Regions from separate parts of the Homo sapiens genome. Here regions 2, 3, 4, 5 and 6 are each linked to region 1. The links are contacts of gene promoters, found by promoter capture Hi-C in blood cells and fetal thymus (Javierre and others, 2016). All regions are on one chromosome and are shown on one strand. The core of a region is centred on a gene start or on the middle of the fragment in contact, and the rest is flanking DNA. Distances in the headings are between cores, read along the strand shown.

The links. The method cuts DNA at HindIII sites, captures the fragments that hold promoters and counts their contacts. A CHiCAGO score of 5 or more calls a contact.
Region 2: a fragment that was not itself captured here is called in contact with the fragment with the promoter of USP1 in region 1 in 2 of 17 cell types (fetal thymus and neutrophils); the score reaches 8.2 in fetal thymus.
Region 3: a contact is called between a fragment that was not itself captured here and the fragment with the promoter of USP1 in region 1, in 8 of 17 cell types (non-activated CD4 T cells, naive CD4 T cells, total CD4 T cells and 5 more). The highest score is 8.1, in non-activated CD4 T cells.
Region 4: a contact is called between the fragment with the promoter of OMA1 here and the fragment with the promoter of USP1 in region 1, in 1 of 17 cell types (total B cells). The highest score is 6.1, in total B cells.
Region 5: a contact is called between the fragment with the promoter of JUN here and the fragment with the promoter of USP1 in region 1, in 1 of 17 cell types (total CD8 T cells). The highest score is 6.4, in total CD8 T cells.
Region 6: a fragment that was not itself captured here is called in contact with the fragment with the promoter of USP1 in region 1 in 2 of 17 cell types (naive CD4 T cells and total CD8 T cells); the score reaches 6.5 in naive CD4 T cells.

What each region holds. Positions count from the first base shown.
Region 1 is chr1:62,435,621-62,438,618 of GRCh38, forward strand. It overlaps USP1 (ubiquitin specific peptidase 1), which reads left to right and starts at 1,429. Exons shown (of 9, transcript NM_003368.5): 1 at 1,429-1,780. RefSeq lists enhancers at 1-663, 346-695, 664-1,431, 1,256-1,325 and a silencer at 2,026-2,085. The HindIII fragment of the contact is 3,360 bases long and covers 25-2,998 here.
Region 2 is chr1:66,932,845-66,935,860 of GRCh38, forward strand. All of the region lies in intron 2 of MIER1 (MIER1 transcriptional regulator), which reads left to right. Among named protein-coding and RNA genes, the nearest start is that of MIER1, 9.4 kb to the left of the region's middle. The HindIII fragment of the contact is 1,149 bases long and covers 1,061-2,209 here.
Region 3 is chr1:67,426,888-67,429,636 of GRCh38, forward strand. All of the region lies in intron 1 of SERBP1 (SERPINE1 mRNA binding protein 1), which reads right to left. Among named protein-coding and RNA genes, the nearest start is that of SERBP1, 2.1 kb to the right of the region's middle. RefSeq lists an enhancer at 2,052-2,688. The HindIII fragment of the contact is 686 bases long and covers 910-1,595 here.
Region 4 is chr1:58,545,086-58,548,139 of GRCh38, forward strand. OMA1 (OMA1 zinc metallopeptidase) reads right to left here and starts at 1,641. Exons shown (of 9, transcript NM_145243.5): 1 at 1,618-1,641. It also overlaps a transcript of DAB1 not described here. RefSeq lists enhancers at 1,050-1,676, 1,890-2,079 and silencers at 1,290-1,379, 1,390-1,489. The HindIII fragment of the contact is 5,811 bases long and covers 814-3,054 here.
Region 5 is chr1:58,782,418-58,785,494 of GRCh38, forward strand. JUN (Jun proto-oncogene, AP-1 transcription factor subunit) reads right to left here and starts at 1,630. Exons shown (of 1, transcript NM_002228.4): 1 at 1-1,630. The coding sequence starts at 653. JUN-DT (JUN divergent transcript) reads left to right here and starts at 2,734. Exons shown (of 2, transcript NR_108106.1): 1 at 2,734-2,888. RefSeq lists a silencer at 1-69 and enhancers at 1,328-2,075, 1,590-1,849, 2,076-2,821. The HindIII fragment of the contact is 7,855 bases long and covers 1-3,077 here.
Region 6 is chr1:58,695,992-58,698,882 of GRCh38, forward strand. The region is part of intron 1 of MYSM1 (Myb like, SWIRM and MPN domains 1); the gene reads right to left. Among named protein-coding and RNA genes, the nearest start is that of MYSM1, 2.6 kb to the right of the region's middle. The HindIII fragment of the contact is 2,412 bases long and covers 404-2,815 here.

The sequences.
Region 1 (2,998 bases), core at 179-2,678:
CCATTCTTCCCTCAGATTCCTCCAAGCTTTTTCATTCAGCTCTGCTCAAATGTCAACTCAAAGAGGTCTTTCCAGGCTATCGTATCTATCACTTATCTTAGCGTCACTTGTATCTCCCTCTCCAGAATGTAATGCTCCTTTATGACAGGGAATGCCTTTACATCCCTCGCGCCTTGAAAAATGCCTGGCACATAGTAGGCACCTTAAAAATACTTGATTAAATGGATTTGGGCTGAACGTATCCTGCTTAACTGCAGCACTTGAGCTGAGGTCACCTCACCAAAGCAGGCACACAAACACAAAAGGAAGCACACAACCAGATGAGGCCTGCCTGCCGCTCCTGAACCCTTTGGGAGGGCTCGCGCGGGAACCCTGGGAAGCTCCCGCGGCCGGAGCTGGGCCTGAAACTGTTCTTTCGTTTCCTCCTGCGGCCGAGAAAGGGAAGAGGTAAACAGGCGAAAATGAGGCGAGCAGGGGCTGAGGACCGGGCCTCAGCTCTACAGCATTCGCCTGAGCATGTATTGTTATCCGTGGCAGCGCCTTGTCTCATTGGATGGCCCTAGGCCTAGTGTGGCCGCGACTCCGAACTGAAAGCCCAAGCGCGGCGGCGTCCAGCCGGGCAGCCATTTTCCGAAGCTGCTCTCTTGGTAACCCCGCCCGGGCGCGTACGCACGAACGGAGGCGGGGCTTACCGCGAGGGCCTCGCTCCGGAAGCCGCACCCTCCGCGGCGTCCCACCGTCGAGGATTAACAAAACGCCAAACAAGATTTTAACAGTCGGCAGCGAAAGCGCGCACTCGAGCGCCAATGAGAGCGGAAGGAGGGGCACCGCGCCTGAGGAACACTCCGTATGTCGAACAATGATTGGCTGGAGCCCACCTTTCTTCTTTTTTGCTATTAGATGGGCTTGCTGCTCCCGCCCATCTAATTGGCTTTGGTCTAGGTACTTCTGATTGGCTTCCCCCGGGCGGTGGGAGGCGCGGTTTTGGGGATTGTTCATCATGGATTGGTGAATTTGGGCTCCTTCTCGAGGTGGTGGCCCATCCCGTCTGCTCTCTGTCCCGTCTCCCGACCCGTACGCTTTTCCCTCAACTCGCGCGCACGAATGGTTAAAAAAAGGGTGTGAGGCTCGAGCCCGCCAGCCAGGCCGCTAGCACCTCGCGCGCGCCCTCAGCGAGGACCCGCACGAGCTGCCCGGCTCTGTGCCTGCGTTGTTTGAAACTGTGGAACCCGTTAGGCTTTTGGGGAACTACAGTCCCAGCTGGCTCCGGAGCCCGTGCGTGCCAGGGGCGAGTGGCCGTCGCGAGACGGCTCCTGCCTTTCGTGTCTCTGCAGCGTGGAGACTGGAACCGGCAATTTCAAAGGACGCCACGTTCAATCGCAGCGCTGGCGCGGGCGGAGGCTAAAACACGGGGGTCCTGAGACTGAGGAAAACGCGCCAAGTTCCCCTCGGTGGCGGAGTGCTAAAGACCCTAGCGGTTCAGGCGTTCGGCGAGCGGGGCCGCTGCTTGTTGCGCTCCTGGCTCTCCCGGGGCGGGCGCAGATGGGCGCCGCTCCCGGGATGTAGTTGGTGTTGGTGCAAGACGGGAGCGAGCGGCGGTCGGGGTTCCCGCTCTTGGGAGCGGATGGTCACTCCCCCGCGGGGAGGGCGAGCCGACCAGATTTTCCTGGGGCCGGGGACCCGGCGGGCTCGGGGCAGGGACTCACCTGTCGCACCCACACTCATTCGGGTTGGACTTGCCGGCGTCACCGCCGCGGACTTCGCTTTGGGCCATGACCAGGTAAGGAGGGCCTGGGAGGAGGGGCCGGCTCCCGGGCGCGGGGGCAAGTTCGGCCGGCGCGGGAGAGGAGCTGCCGGGGAGACCCCGGGACCGTGTTGGCCTCGCACCCTGGTCGACCTGCCAGGGGGAGCCGTGTGTGCCTCGGGCGTGGCGCCTGTCTTGCCGCCGCCGGGACGCGAGAAGGCAGGTGCGGGCTGGGCGTAAATAGGCCAACTCCGCGGCGAGGGCGCCCGGCGCGGGGGTGTGGGCCGAGGACGCCGCCGCCAGCCTCCCCCGACCGGGCAGCCTGGTCGCTGCTCGTCCTTCCAGCTTTCTTTCCGTTCCCGAGAGCGGTGAAGGATGGGGAGAAAGAAACGTTTCCACGCAGGTTGCCCTGTGTCGGTAATTGCGAAATTTTACCGCGCATTTTCTTTCACTTACACTTTTTCAAGAAGTGTTTAGAACGCCGCGTGTCTTAAACCTTGGCGAAGATGTCCTTGTAGATTTTTGTTGAAAAATCGGAATCGAGTCGTGTCATCTTATAAAGAATTTAAAACTATTGGGACTGAGTGTTCACGCTGTCAACAGATAATGGTCGATTCGTCGTGCTTTCTGCGAAAGTTGATTTAGTTACAGGAGAAATATTTTGGATGTAACAGCCCCCCAGTTACAAGGAAAGCCAGGAGCAAGAAATAGCAAGGAAGATACTGCACCTGGCAAAATGTTACATTCTCGGTGTGAGCTTTGCTTTGAGGGGCTAGGAGGTTTGGTTTTTTGATTAAGCTGACGATCCGCTATTTCACCTGCCTAATCATTCTTCCCTTCTGTGTAGTCTGGTTACTCTGTCGGTTTGAGATCCAGTTTCTGTCATCCATTAAATTGGCTCTCGAGAAAAACCTTTTATCAGAATCATTAATGCTTGGCGATCCCTGAGAACTTAGCGCAGGTTGGTTTATCATTCAGAAGACAGCGCTTCCTCAGAAGCATTAGGTAGACAGGAGAGTAAGTGAAGTTGGAGACAGAATGGAGAGATGGATCAGCTTTCCAGTGCTTCCTGATTTGGGTCTCAGAAATGGTTTCAGTGTGCTGAGTTCAGTATGAATTCCTAGATCAGTGTCAGCCATGTGAAATGCTTATTAAGGATGAAATTTGAGTGAGTCTTGTGTAGTTCATTTTATTACTCTGCATTTTAAATTTGAAACTCGTTGCTGAAGTTTTGGGCTTTAAGTAATTTTATGG
Region 2 (3,016 bases), core at 385-2,884, 4.5 Mb after region 1:
TTAAAAAAAAAAATTGATGCTTCCTACAAGAGCATGACCCTGACCATGTTTTTCCAGAAAAATATTTAATTCTTGAATAGAAAGTGCTTTAGATGAGAATAGGATATACTAATTTTTTATATTTGATCTGATTATCTTAGTCCATAATAGGAAGTATATATTGGTTCTTCAGTTGTGATAACATTAAAGCCGTATTTAATGTACTTAGAATAAATAGCATATGCTCCCTTGCTTAATACTTTTTGGCAATATTTCTCATTGCTTATTATCCCTTAAAATTATTTACCAACCTTCTAAAAGGACGCTCTCCTAGTCACACTTGAAGGAAATTACAGGATAGTTGCAGTTTTACTAACTGCAAAAATAAGAGGAAAATGAGAGAAAAAATGAGAGGAAGAAATAGTTAATCCTTTGGGTTTTATAAGGAATGTACTAGGGACCTTTGGGAACGAACAATTTGTCTTGTATTTTAGCGTTTGTAAACACGTAAGGGACTTTCTTCTCAAGGAAAAAAATCCATGGACAATTCAAGACCTGTCTTTTCACCTAGGCCACATTTCTGTGATATAAAGAGAAAATTAATGGATTTGCTTCTTTCTATTTAAGTATTTTAGTACTTTCAAAGAGGGTATATAATCTGTTTATTCACTTTCACACCTATCCATTTCTCTTTAAAATGGACTCCTTGCTTAGTATTTTTTGAGTGTATTTGGATTTTTTTAACGAAGGATTATGTTAAATGTTACTTATGAAAACATTAATTTCTACTCTAAGCAAAATGTGTTTCACTGCAGTGAATTTAAGCTTCAAATAATTCTCGACACTAATAATGAATTTTTTTTCATGTTTATACTTCAGAGCTATTAAGATTTTAAAAGTAGTCAAGATCACCAGTGCGTGAGAGTCCTAAAAATCTTAATTCATTGGCAGTTAAGAGTTAGGGTACTTTAATAGGTGGGAAAGGTTTGGTGGGAGAAACAAGTGAATTACTTTAAGATAATTCTGGTAAGTGAGACTAACCAGTTTTCTAAATAATTCAGAAATAAAACACTGCCATTGAAGCTTAAGCATGTCTTTATGAAAAGTAATCAGCTATCTAGAAATGCCTGCCTGGCTTGATGTTCATTCAAAATTCATTGCAGTGATTAAATTGTTCAAGTACCAGTCATTGCTTGGGGCTTGTTCTGTTTGTCTTATTCTGTGGCTTAGAACAATAACTTATTATGTAGGTATGAAATTCATGAAGTAGCACCCCAAAAAATTGTTTTTGCAAATTGAGATTTTTTTAACAGTCCTAGATTTAAAAAAATAAATTTAAACATATCCCATGCATTTAGCTGCATACTCCTTAGTAGTGTTAGGTTTCTAGAGCAATTTATAATAAAAGTAAAGTTAGGTCTTGAAGAAATCTAAATCTTTTGATCATAGAGAAAATGAAAGTGAGCAGAGAGTTTACGTAGTTTGTCCTAGGTCGTGCAATTCATCTATGGCACAGTTTAGACTGGAACCCAGCCTTCTGTATTCCTAGATTCCTAGTGCTTATTTTCTTTTTCTTTCTTTCTTTTTTTTTTTTTTTTGAGACAGGGTCTCTCTCTGTTGCCCAGGCTGGAGTGCAGTGGCGCAAATCATAGCTCACTACAACCTCAAACTCCTGGGCTCAGGTGATCAATCCTTCCCTCAGAGCCTCTCAAGTAGCTGGGACTATAGGCATGTGCCATCATGCCCGGCTTTTTTTTTTTTTTGTGGAGACAGGGTCTCGATATGTTGATCAGACTGGTCTCGAGCTTCTGGCCTTAAGTGATCCTCCTGTCTTGTGCTGGGATTATAGGCGTGTGCCACTGTTCCCAGTCCTTATTTTCTATGATATCATTTTACTTCTGAATTATTAATACTGTAGTAAATTGCTAATTTTAATTTCAGTACATTCTTAACCTTTTTATACCCCAGAATTCCTGAGAGTAATAACAAAGTTAAGTAACTTAATTTTATTGGAGGAGAGGGATGGTGAGCCAGCCCTTGGCACGGTAACCATCTTTCACCCTAAAGTAGGACCCCTCTTTCCAGGCTTCTATCCCCATCTCCATTGCTGTGAGAATCTCTGACTTAGAGTCTACATAACTAAGTAGATGACGGCAATACTTAAAAGAAATGGTGGTAGAATTGTTTTGAGGGGAAAAATTTGTTCAGACGGTAATACTCATTGCAAATAAGCTTTTGATTGCCTGGAATAAAAAAATCTAGTAATTACTTCATGTTTTTACTATGTTGTTGTTAGGGTTTTTTTGGTGAAAATAATGGTAATGTTGTAGTTAGTTATTTCTTTACTCTCTCTCAAATTATAGTCTTCTGTTGTATGGGACATTTCCCACCATGTTCTAGAAAAATATAAAAGAGAATTATTTCAGCAAATCTGAGGCATTGAATATTCGTTACAACTATTAGCAATTTTATCAACTAAATCATACAAATATGTGGGTGAGGGTCAACTTGCTATAAAAGTTGCTAGAGTTTGTTTTTAATTTGTTTTAGCCCATTCATACTCTGTGTACAGTCTTTCTGTCTCTCTAGTGTTGTTTTCCATCTCAGATAAGATAAATATGTACCCCCTAAAACACTGAATTTTTCAAAATTACAGCTTAAAAAATAGTAACAAGTACTAGGTTTTCTTAAAAATCAAAATTTAGAGGAAGAAAATGAAAATGTCTCATAATTCCACAAGATAATCAGTTCCCAGTGACTTTCATTTTAAGAAAGAATGCATAGTACATGAAAGTGGTTAGAAAATTTCAACAGTACAGAAAGGTATTAAATGAAAAAAGCCTCTTCTCCCTGACCCCATTCCCTAGAGGTAACTATTGTTAACAGGTTCTTGTATGTCCTTTTGAGGAAAAAAAATTTATTCCATATTATTTCATATTCCAGCCCAGTTTACGCCCTGTTCTACAGTTTTCTTTATACTCCTAATTTTTTTTGGCATTTATTTCTCTATCAACACAAACAGATATCTCTATTTTTA
Region 3 (2,749 bases), core at 3-2,502, 5.0 Mb after region 1:
TAGAGAACATCACTTCAGTTTAAAACAGCCATTTAACCAGAAAAAGTGTCATCTTTTGGTCTTCTTAGCTACAGGCACACAAAAAGGGCCATCTTCCCCTATTAAAGTTTAAAATTTTATAGCATGTAAGTGTATATATGTTTGTACACACTCCCACATCCCTAAGTACTTCCAAGTTAGGAAACAGTTACTTATTATGCATGGAGAGAGTCCTCTAAAAAATTTGCCCTAACAACTATCTTTATTTTCAAAGAATCTTTAAAAACCAAATACACACACGTTAAGACCGCTTTTAAGCAACATGTAAGAAATAAGAAAACTTGTGACACTAAGTGATAGCTGAAGCATTTACTAATTTCCCCCTTTACTACTTTTTTCCTGTAATGTCTGAAACCCCACAAAGGCAACCAATTTAAATTATTGGTGCCCATAAGGATCAACAGATTGATGGTTAAATTAATGACTTTAAGATTGTTGGTATGCTCTAATTCCCAATTTCTGACAAAGTCATAAAGCAGCTGAGGAATTGGTTTTACAAGATTTTAAGCTGCTTCACTTTGGTTCTTTCTAAGAAAGTAGAACACCATCAAGACACACCCAGTTGTTCTGCTGCCTGTTAACTGGAGCCAAACAGTAACTATCAATCTCTTCAATAGAATTTTGAAGTTCATTCCCTGTAAATACTCAAGATAGACTACAAATATTAGACCTTACACCAAGGTATTTAAATAAATGTCATCAGTAATAAAGTGCACTGGGGTGGAGTTATGGAACCAGTCCTTGCAATAATATCCAAGCCAAACACACCCAAGTGAACAATAGTTGGCGTCCCCACCCAATATCAAGTTTACAGAATCTTAAAAACGTATTAAACCTACCTAATGAAAAAGACTGACATTTAAAAATGCAAGCTTCTTTTGATATACTTATCTATAACTTGCAAGCTCACTAACTGCACTAGTTTCAAGGCATTCATTCTTTTTTAGAAAATCCCTGGTCTACACTCTCAATGACATTCTGCTGTCAATTCTCAAGTTCTTCAAATGGGCAAGAGAATGTACAAAATTAATTCATAAAACATAAACATTAAATATCTGTCTAAAGTATGTCAAGTATTATGTCACAATGTGTTATCAAAATCACAGAACACAATCAGGTTAACCTTCCTACTACATGCAGCGACTTTGTTTACAGATTTATTCCCAGTAATCAGGACAGTAGAATCTCAAAACGGGTATTGTCCATTCAACACTTTTCCTGTATTTTACATGCTTGTATTTTATGCAACTTAACAGTAGTGCTCTGAAATACTGACCTAAGGAAAATGCTGATTGCTAACATGGAATAGTTTTCCCATGGAAAGACTCATTGAACGGTGAACCTAAGTCTTGGTTCTAACTTCATGAAATCATTCCCCACATTTGTTAACTTAAAATACTACTTTTCAGGTAAGAGCTTATTTCATAGATGGGCTTCATGATCAAAATAACTCAGGCATTTAAACCATGCTTCATGTTTTGAACATTCAAAATGAGTGAACACATCTACCTGGTACACATTATTCGTCAGATTCAACTTTTTCGTGTACTTTCTTAAGCTTAAGCATAGTTTAAATAATTACACAAGTCAGCGTTACTTAACACACGAATTAAATGATTTATTTAATTGTGCTAGATTGCCATAAAGCTTAACTGGCTGAAGAGATACTTGGCCTAAGTGATATACATGCTTTCTAATACTCCAACTGTATTTTTCCTCAACCTATAATTTTACCACAAGAATTAATTATTTTCTTTTATTCACCACCTAGGACCGAGGTTCTTCATTCCGAGCCTCACAAAAGTCCTCAAAAAAAAAAAAAAAAACCCTCCTAAAACAAATCCTACCACGAGAAAATTGTTTTGATTTTTAAAATTAGTTCACTGTTACAGAATTCAACTAAAGCTAAAGAGAAACAACTCCTTTCAGAGAAGCACGTGGCAGGAAGGGGTAATTTCAACTTTCAACATATAAATGCAGCTTTAAAGATTCAGACCTTAGGTCCAACACCTGCTTGCTATTGATCATGCACGTTCTTATCTCCAAACTGCTTGCTCTTTTTTTTCATCCGCAACAAACTGGTAAAGCGAATGCAAAAATCAAGACAATCCTGTGAAACTCACAGTGCCCTAGAAACAACTATTAACCGCCAGTGAAACTCTGACCATGCTTCACGCACATGTGGTGGAAAAAAAAAACTGCGAACTCTAAAGAGCTCTGCTGCGACTAACGCTGTGACAGCCTCTGCACTCACTTCACCCACGAGGCCCAGACCCCACCACGTGAAAGATTCAGTTTGGGGAGTCGAGAGAGAGGATCGTGACTCGAGGACGTTCCTCGGGATGTCCTGCAATCACCAGTCTTCATTCATAATTCCCGCTCCTGGTTAATCGAGTGTGGCCAAACTCCTCCATTTCCCAACGGCTCAACTCACCCCAGCAAGTTATGAGAAAGTCCTAACAGTTGAGAGGTGGAAGAGAAACAAATAAAGGACATGCGGCACCCCAACCTGCAGCTTACTCCACACGTCTGATGGCCTGGAACGACCCCCTGCTTTTCAGCGGGGATACTCCGCGCCGTCGTGGGACAAGACGGCAGGACAGGAGCCTGAAACAACAGCACCTCAAAGGAGCAGCTCTGCGCAGTAAGCAGCGATGGACCCCCAAGCTCCTCCGTAACTACGGAAAGCTTCGGTGAGGGGCCGGCTTCC
Region 4 (3,054 bases), core at 391-2,890, 3.9 Mb before region 1:
CCCTCCTACTACTTCTCCAGGCACCTTCCCCAACCCTCCTTCACCCATTCCTAAATTCCAAACTCCCTGATTTACTTACACCCCACAGAAAAAGAAAGCTCTCATCTCTATGTCTATGCACATCTATTCACACTGCTTAGCTCTGCACATGACAAGCAAACTCCTTCTCATTTCTCATGACTTGTGTAAAAATTTTAAAAGAATCCTATTGACACAGAAGGTATAAGCAAAAGCCCCAACACTACGCATATATAATTAAAACCATTATCATTTCTATCACTGACAACCAAGTGTCGTTTTGAATAGAAACAGTGCCTGATATTTTGTAATACCCGGTTTATCCTGAAGAAAGGGTAAAGAATGAGGGAAGAAATCTATTCATGCATTTTCAAGGAGCCAATCACTAGACTACAGAGCACATAAGAAAAAAAAAAATCAGGGCTGACATATTCTCTTCAAAGAGCTGTGGCAGGTCAACAAACATAGCTGGCAGACTTCTAGGATAACAAAATTAATGATGTGAGAAAATTAAACAATTTGGATTGTTAGCCTCTACGAACATTTCAGATCCTTAATTCTTTAAGTACCATCTCCGAATGAGCAAGTGCAGCACTCACTGGCACTCACAGCTGAAGCCTGGAAGACAGTTTTAACAACTCTTGCTGAAAATGACTATTTCTTCTCTAGTTTCTATGGAAACAGCTGTCAGATTGGCAAAAATAGGACATGTACTTTAAAATAATCATTCAAGCAAAGTACACACATGATGGAAGGCTTTAAAAAAGAATTGGACGGCAGCAGACTTGGTTCTTAAGCTTCCAAATGTCAGACTACACCCCTTCACCCCGGCTGAGAATGACGGAGATGAACCTAAATCCTTTTAGCGAGGGTTGCACGACCTTGATCAACGCCTGAATGCCAAATAAGGGATTTTCATCTCCCTGGACTACAATTTCTTGTTGAGGATTGCACGGCACAATAAAACTGTTGCTCCACACACAGGCGACATTTAAACAGTATACAGTGAGTTCTGTAGACGAGTTTACGAGGAAATTGTTAAAACTCCCCGGAACTGCTTAGACGGGGAATGTTCTGGTTTGCCCTGCCGAGTTTAGGCTGGAAAACGTGTTCAGTTTCTCCTGAAGAGGGAAGGGGTGAAAGAGACGAATGCCCGACGCGCCGGGAGGCGGTCCCCTCTGGCAGAGGTGCCGGGTGAGGAGCCCGAAGCCCCGCGGGTGAGAAACCCTGCTCTGAAAGCGGAGCCGCGGATAAGGGCGGGCTGAGGGGGAGGGCAGGCGGCCCACGAAAGTACTGCCACGGGGCAGACACACGGGGTCACCGGCGTGCCCCGGGCAAGGCTAGGGGAGAACCGGGCTCCCCCAGGACAGATCCCCTCCGTCTCCCGCCCCGGCGCCCCCCGCCCCTCCCCTCCACGCAGCCTTATCGCCCACCCACGCCTCCTCCCGTACCCCCATCCCCAAGGATCCCCACTCCTTGCCCGGGCGCCCCCGCAGGCGCTCTGCGCTCCGCCCCCTCCCCACTGCCGCACTCTGCCTCCTCCCCTGGGCACGATCCTACTCGGAAAAGCTGGGGAAAAGCGTCACCGTGAGGACTGACTCAAGCAGAAGCGAAAGCGGTGACACCGCAGACCCGACCTATGCGCAGGCGCGCACCCGCACTTCCTGCCCGCCATACCGGCCGGGGCGCCCTTCGCTCCGCCCACACCCGGCAGTCAATACAGCCGCCCAGAGTCGTTCTCCCAGCTGCCCCGGGCCCCGCGGAGACTGTGGCGCTCTAGCGCCTCCGTGTGGCTTAAGGCGGGACATGGCCCTGGGCTGGGCTGCTTGCCTAGGAACAACTTTCTCCCGTCTTTGGTGAGTTGGGTCCTCTAAAGAATGATCCACGCAAGGCTGTGTCCGTTGTAGTCTCTACGGCAGTACCGGCCAAAAGGGAAGAGACTCGAAGACTGCCAAAAGACGAAGGCTTCCTGGTTCTGAATCTGCATTCATAGAAATAGTCTTTGGAGTATGGGAACAGTGCTTTCATATGATTTTTGGAGGGACGCATTTTAAGAAAGATGAAGTATAATCTTAAGTGTCTGGAGGTTAAAGTAGCTGGCTCCAAAATTATGTGTATAGTATGTTTCATTCATTTCACCAAAACATATTTCTTGAGCATCAACTACATTTTAAGTGCCAAGGATGTAGCAGTGAACAAGACAGACCTGAATTTCGTGAACTTTATATCACAGTGAGGAAAGACAGGCGATTAAAAAAAAGTGTACAAATAAACACAAATAAATAAAAGTGTACAAATAAGCCAGTACAAATAAACACTGGATTGTGATGGATGAGTAGTGAGGTCTCATATTAGTTTATTATGTTTACACTCTGTGCACAATGAAAACATCTCAAAGGACATAAACACTATGTCAAAGGACATAAACACTATGAACAATTTTAGGTATCTCTTTTGGAAAATGTGTAAGTTACTGTTTCGTTTATCTTATGTGTATTTTATGATTTGCCTTTTACTTTGAAAGGGATATCCTGGAAAACCCCTGACAACTGGACCCCTAAAAACTGAAGTAGGAGGTCCTTCAGTCTTCGTAGGGTTTATCTCCCAAACTCTGGAGTGCACATGTCTTACCAAAGTTTCCAGCATGCTAGCCACCTCTTGCTCATCTTGCCTGGTTAGCATAATGTCATTGGTGAAATAGATGGGTGTGATGTTCTCTGGAATTTCCAGTTGATCCAGCTCCTTTTGGACTGCGCAGAGCCATTATGTCATTATCCTGGGTCCACCTGATTTCCAAAGGGGCCAGACTGGCAAGTTAAGTAGAGATATGGCAGGGATGACCAACCACTCTTGTATATTTCAGGTCTTTAATTATGACATTAATCTCCACCATCATCTCACTATCCCCTCAGATGAAATATCGGTTTTGATTTATTATCTTCACTTGGAAAGAAGGACAGCTTCAGAGGCTTCCCATTGGCTTTCCCCACCATGATAACTCAAGACCAAGGACCCTGAGCTTCTTACCAATGTGGA
Region 5 (3,077 bases), core at 380-2,879, 3.7 Mb before region 1:
TGCACGGGCATCTGCTGGGGCAGGTGGTGCGGCGGCTGCTGCTGCTGCTGGGGTTGCGCGGGAAAGGCCAGGCCGGCCGCGCCGTAGGAGGGCGCCCCGCCGCCGCTGCTCAGCGCGCCTGGGTTGAAGTTGCTGAGGTTTGCGTAGACCGGCGGCTCGCTGTGCAGGCTGGCGCTGAAGCCGCCGCTGCCGCTGCCCCCTGCCACCGAGGCTACCGCGGGAGCCACCATGCCTGCCCCGTTGACCGGCTGCGCCGCCGACGTGACGCTGGGCAGCGTGTTCTGGCTGTGCAGTTCGGCCAGGGCGCGCACGAAGCCCTCGGCGAAGCCCTCCTGCTCATCTGTCACGTTCTTGGGGCACAGGAACTGGGTGGGGGTCGGCGTGGTGGTGATGTGCCCGTTGCTGGACTGGATTATCAGGCGCTCCAGCTCGGGCGACGCCAGCTTGAGCAGCCCCACGTCGGGCGAGGTGAGGAGGTCCGAGTTCTTGGCGCGGAGGTGCGGCTTCAGGCTCCCCACTGGGTCGGCCAGGTTCAGGGTCATGCTCTGTTTCAGGATCTTGGGGTTACTGTAGCCATAAGGTCCGCTCTCGGACGGGAGGAACGAGGCGTTGAGGGCATCGTCATAGAAGGTCGTTTCCATCTTTGCAGTCATAGAACAGTCCGTCACTTCACGTGAGGTTAGTTTGGGCTGCGCGCACAAGTTTCGGGGCCGCAACAGGGCTGTGGCAAGCGGGGGACACCCGCGCCCCCCGGAGCCTTTGACAGGGAAAGTTTCTCTAAGAGCGCACGCACCCGCTGGCTGTCGTCCCCGCTGCGCCCTCCTCACCAGCTCGCTCCAGGGAGCGCAGGGTTAATTAAGATGCCTCCCGCACTCTTACTTGTCGACTCGCGCGCGCTACCCGGCTTTGAAAAGTCGCGGTCACTCACTGAGCGCTCTTCGTGCGCAGCGGTTCCTCGGAGTCCGCAGGCGAACTCACTTCCCAGAGCAGCGGCTCTCCCCGCGGAGCGGATCAGTGCGGACCCTGCAGTGGCCGGCCGGCGGCGGGTCTTGGCCGCCCGGACTCCGACGACTTGTCCCCTCCTCCGCTGCTAGGGGGAGGGGGCGCCCGGCAGCCGCGGCTCGCGCTCGCCCAAGTTCAACAACCGGTGCGAGCGAAGCTGAGCGCACGTCCTTCTTCTCTTGCGTGGCTCTCCGCCGCCTTCTGGTCTTTACCGCCGTGGAGAAGCCTAAGACGCAGGAAAGGCTTGCAAAAGTTGGCTCCGGGACTCTGCCACTTGTCTCCGGTCCTCCCAGCCGGGAAAGTTCTTTGCTGCTGCAGCCGCTCGCCGACTTCCCCCGGCGGGCGCGTGGGTACCGCTGCTTTCCGCCGCTGTCAACAGCGCCTGGGCAGCAGGGCTCTCCTCCCGGGGGCGGCTGGAGACCAGGCTCTCTGGACACTCCCGAAACACCAGCCCGGGAGCCACAGGCGCTAGCTCTGGGCAGTTAGAGAGAAGGTGAAAAGAAAATAAGATTTGCAGTTCGGACTATACTGCCGACCTGGCTGGCTGGCTGTGTCTGTCTGTCTGCCTGACTCCGCGCACCTCCACTCCCGCCTCGCTGCTTCAGCCACACTCAGTGCAACTCTGAGCCCTTATCCAGCCCGAGCTCAACACTTATCTGCTACCAGTCAACCCCTAAAAATAGCCCATGATGTCACCCCAAGGCCTTCCCATTGGCTCGCGTCGCTCTCAGGGGGGCGGGCCCGCCCGTCACCATGGAGACTCCACCCTAGAAGATTCTTCTCTGGGCCCGCGGAGGCTCACGGGATGAGGTAATGCTCCGCTGCCCTCCTACAGTCGGGCCCTTCTTTCTCCTACCCTCCCCCCTGCCGCACGCCTCTCGGCCCTCTCTTCCCCGGTCCCCTCCCCGGGCCGTTTTTCCCGGCCCGCCCGGTGCATTGTGGGCTGACGTCTTGGGGTTTGACTGTCTAGTGACGGTGGCTGCCGCGAGCGGGCGGACGCTCGCAACCTCTGATGGAGGGGGGCTCAAGTTCACGGCTGCGGACGGGGATGCGGGGGATGCAGGGACCCGGGAGGCCAGGGAACCTGGCCAGTTGTTTTGGGCCAGGGGTGCGGGCGAGGGGTGGTTGTTGTTTCCCCACTTGTGGGGCCCGAAGTCATCCACCGGCGGCCGCCACCGCGCGGGGCTGGAGGCTGAGAATCCAAGTACGCTGCCACCCCCCCGCACTTCCGGGGGGGCGGGAATACCGCCCTTAAGGTGGCTCTGTGAAGTCCCAGGTGGGGGCGAGCCTAAGGGGACTTAAGTTTAGGGGCGGTCTCCCGAGAGTCGGCCCCCCACGTTGAGAACACTCCGAAGTTTGCATCTCGGTCAAGTTCAGGAGCGACGGTCCGCGGGGTCGTCTGGCTGCTCGTAGAAGCCGAGAGATTTGTATTGCCCGAAACTGGACGCTCAGCTGAGTCTCCGTTGCACCCCACTTCATCCTCCGGGACCGTGGGGGAAAGGGCGCGGGGGTTCACAGCTTTGCCTCGGAGGGGCAGTTTTTATAGTGGGCGCAATTGGTGGGTAACAGGGTCCAGATGGGAACAAGCGTGTAGGCGATCCGAAACTCGGGGAACCCCGGTGTTAGTCTACTCCCCCTCCCGCCCCCGGACAACACGCACACGCTTAACACAACACGCACAACATAACGCGCGCGCGCGCGCACACACACACTCCATCCGCGCCGAGTTGCTTCCGGGAAAACAAGCCCAGAAGGCGGCGGACACTCGCATAAAGTCACGCAGTAGTACTCGGAGCCCGGGGTAGAACCTGGACTTCAAATCTCTGCACTCCCGGCCGGGTGGTGGGCGCATATCCTGGGTAGCCTCTAGGAAGCGCTAGACACATGTAAGTGGTTCCTTTTCCGCGGTTATTTTATTCTCCCCCCGCCCCCCACCCCTTAGGGACGAAAGTGTGTGGTGGAAAGAATCCCGAAGTCGGGAATCCTGGTTCTTTCGTGGCCAGGCTACCACAGTGTGAAGCAAGCAAATCACGGAACTCCTCCGAGCTTCATTTCCCTCATCTGCAGGTGGGGCC
Region 6 (2,891 bases), core at 360-2,859, 3.7 Mb before region 1:
CATCTCTAAGACTGCAAAAACCTTTCAACAGGCTTATAAATCTGAATCTTTAATTAGGCAGTAGTTATAATAAATTGTGGGGCTAATGAACTATTCTCTAAAAGCAATCATTTCTCTCAACTGTTGATGGTAAATAGATTTAATCTTAAATGTCAACTATGATCTGGAAGAGGCTACCAGGAAGGGTAAATAAAGGATTCTGAGACTTTTATCAGCTCAAAGAAACCTTTGCTCAAGTAACTAGGTCTGCCAAGAGTTCAGAAAATAGAACCACTATCATTTCAAATTCACTGTAGAAATCTTTTTATTCCTCAATAAGAAGAATCAGCAACACTCATACTCTGGTAGCTACTTCTGGATCTCTACCTGAATCTCCATAGGTACCACATATTAGCATGTTTAAAGCTTGAAATCACCTTTCCTCCCAAATCTGCTACTCTTCTATTGTTCACCATCTCACTCAGTGGCACCACCATCTCCGTAGTTATCCAAGCCAGAAATCCAAGCCTGACCATTTTCTTCACAACCCCCATTTAATCTGCCCTAATTCTGCTGTTTCTCCCATTTTCCAAATCCAGTCCTTCCAGTATTTTCATACTACCTCTGAGGTCCTGTAGTTTCCAATCTTATATAATTTTCCTGGATAAATGTAAAAGATAAAGCTGACAAACCATTCACCTCCCCTCCTTTATCTTTCTCCACCCATCTCCATCTGACATATATATAGGATTGCTGTCTATGTTATCTAACAAGAATGTTCTATGAGAGCACAGACTTGGTTTTGATACACTGTTGTATATCAGTGCATGGCATGTAGAAGGTACTCAATAAAAATTTGTTGGACTAAATGAACAAGGTAGGTAGGGCGTGGATCACTCAGATCTCTGGTAGTTAAAGAATGAGGATTTTATCAAAAAACCAACTGGGGAGTGAAGAGAATAATATGATCAGATCTGGATATAAGAAAGATTACTCTGACTTCAGACTAGAACAGAATGGGGCCAAGGAGACGAGGAGCAGTTAAGAGGGAGAGATTTTAAAAATACTAGAGAAAGGTGACAATAACTTATAGCTACAGGACAATGTGAACAGGAAGAAGTGAATACAGTTGAGAAGATATTTAGACAGAATCAACAGCCCTAAATAACTGATAGGGTAGAGGAGTAGAAGGAGGGAGGTAAGGAATGATGAAGTTTAGGTCTGTGCTTTGGGTGACTGGGTGTGTGTAGGTGCCATTTACTAAACTAGGGTACAGTGAAGAGATCTGGTGGGGAAAATTTATAAGGTGAAACTGAGGTGCTTGTGAGACATCCAGGTACAGATAGATTCAGAGAACTGGATAAATGGATCTGTCACTTAAGAGAGAGATCTGGGTTGGTAACAGATTCGGGAAACATCAGCTGGCAGGTCAAAAATGGTTTAACACTGGTAAAATTTCATATGGTTCAACCTAACAAAGAGAAGTTGAAGTCTTAAGAGGGACAGTGTGGTCAGTGAATCAAAGTCCAATGAGAAAACTCCTTGCAACACTAGGAGTAAAGAACATAAGAAAAGGAGAATGAGACAGAATGGTAGAAGTAGAAGAGAAACCAAAAAAAAATTTTTTTTTTTTTTTGAGATGGCGTTTTGCTCTTGTTGCCCAGGCTAGAGGGCAATGGCGCGATCTCGGCTCACTGCAACCTTCACCTCCCAGGGTCAAGCAATTCTCCTGCCTCAGCCTCCCTAGTAGCTGCAATTACAGGCAGGTGCCACCATGCCTGGCTAAGTTTGTATTTTTAGTAGAGACGGGGTTTCTCCATGTTGGTCAGGCTGATCTCGAACTCCCAACCTCAGGTGATCCGCCCGCCTTGGCCTCCCAAAGTGCTGGGATTACAGGCATGAGCCACCGCACCCAGCCAACCCAAAAGTTTCAATACCATCTTCTAACTTTGACATCTAGCACTTACCAAGTGCTTAAAAGTGTCTATTAAATTAATTCTCAACGGTTTCACAGATGCTATAATATCAACTGTAACTACATACTTCAGAGAGTACCATCACACTAAATTCCATACGGTTGGAGCTCCAACACCACTGGACACTATTTATCAGACTATATATATATATATATATTTTTTTTTTTTTTTTGAGACAGAGTCTCGCTCTGTTGCCCAGGCTGGAGTGCGGTGGCGTGATCTCCGCTCACTGCAAGCTCTGCCTCCCGGGTTCACGCCATTCTCCTGCCTCAGCCTCCCAAGTACCTGGGACTACAGGCGCCCACCACCACGCCCAGCTAATTTTTTGTATTTTTAGTAGAGATGGGGTTTCACCGTGTTAGCCAGGATGGTCTCGATCTCCTGACCTCGTGATCTGCCCGCCTCGGTCTCCCAAAGTGCTGGGATTACAGGCGTGAGCCACCATGCCTGGCCCAGAATATAATATTAATGATACTCCTTGGGGTTGTATAAGACAATAATTGTAACCATCATCAGGAACCAATAACCTTTGTAATCCTGCTTGTTACCACAAGTGCCACCAGTAGACCTAGGCCTCAACTAAAATAGGAAGAAAGAGAAAAGGGGAAAAATGAAACACAATCAGAAAGATAAATCTATGGAAGAAGCATACAGCCAATGCCCTCAGGTGACCAATCTTCAGTGTTTCCAAGGCCAGCTCATTTCTTTCTAGACTGCAGATAAGTATCCCTGCCAACCTATTTCATTAACTTGTTGCGAAAAGTAAATTAAATCAAACATGCAAAAGCACTTGGTCAAGATTTAAACACTAAATGAATGTCAACAAGTATTGTTATTAAGGGCTCCCTACTCATCTGCAAAGCTTTGAGGGACAATGACCATATGAGTTTAATCACCCCTCACGTCTTTATAGGGCTTTAGAGTTCATGATACACT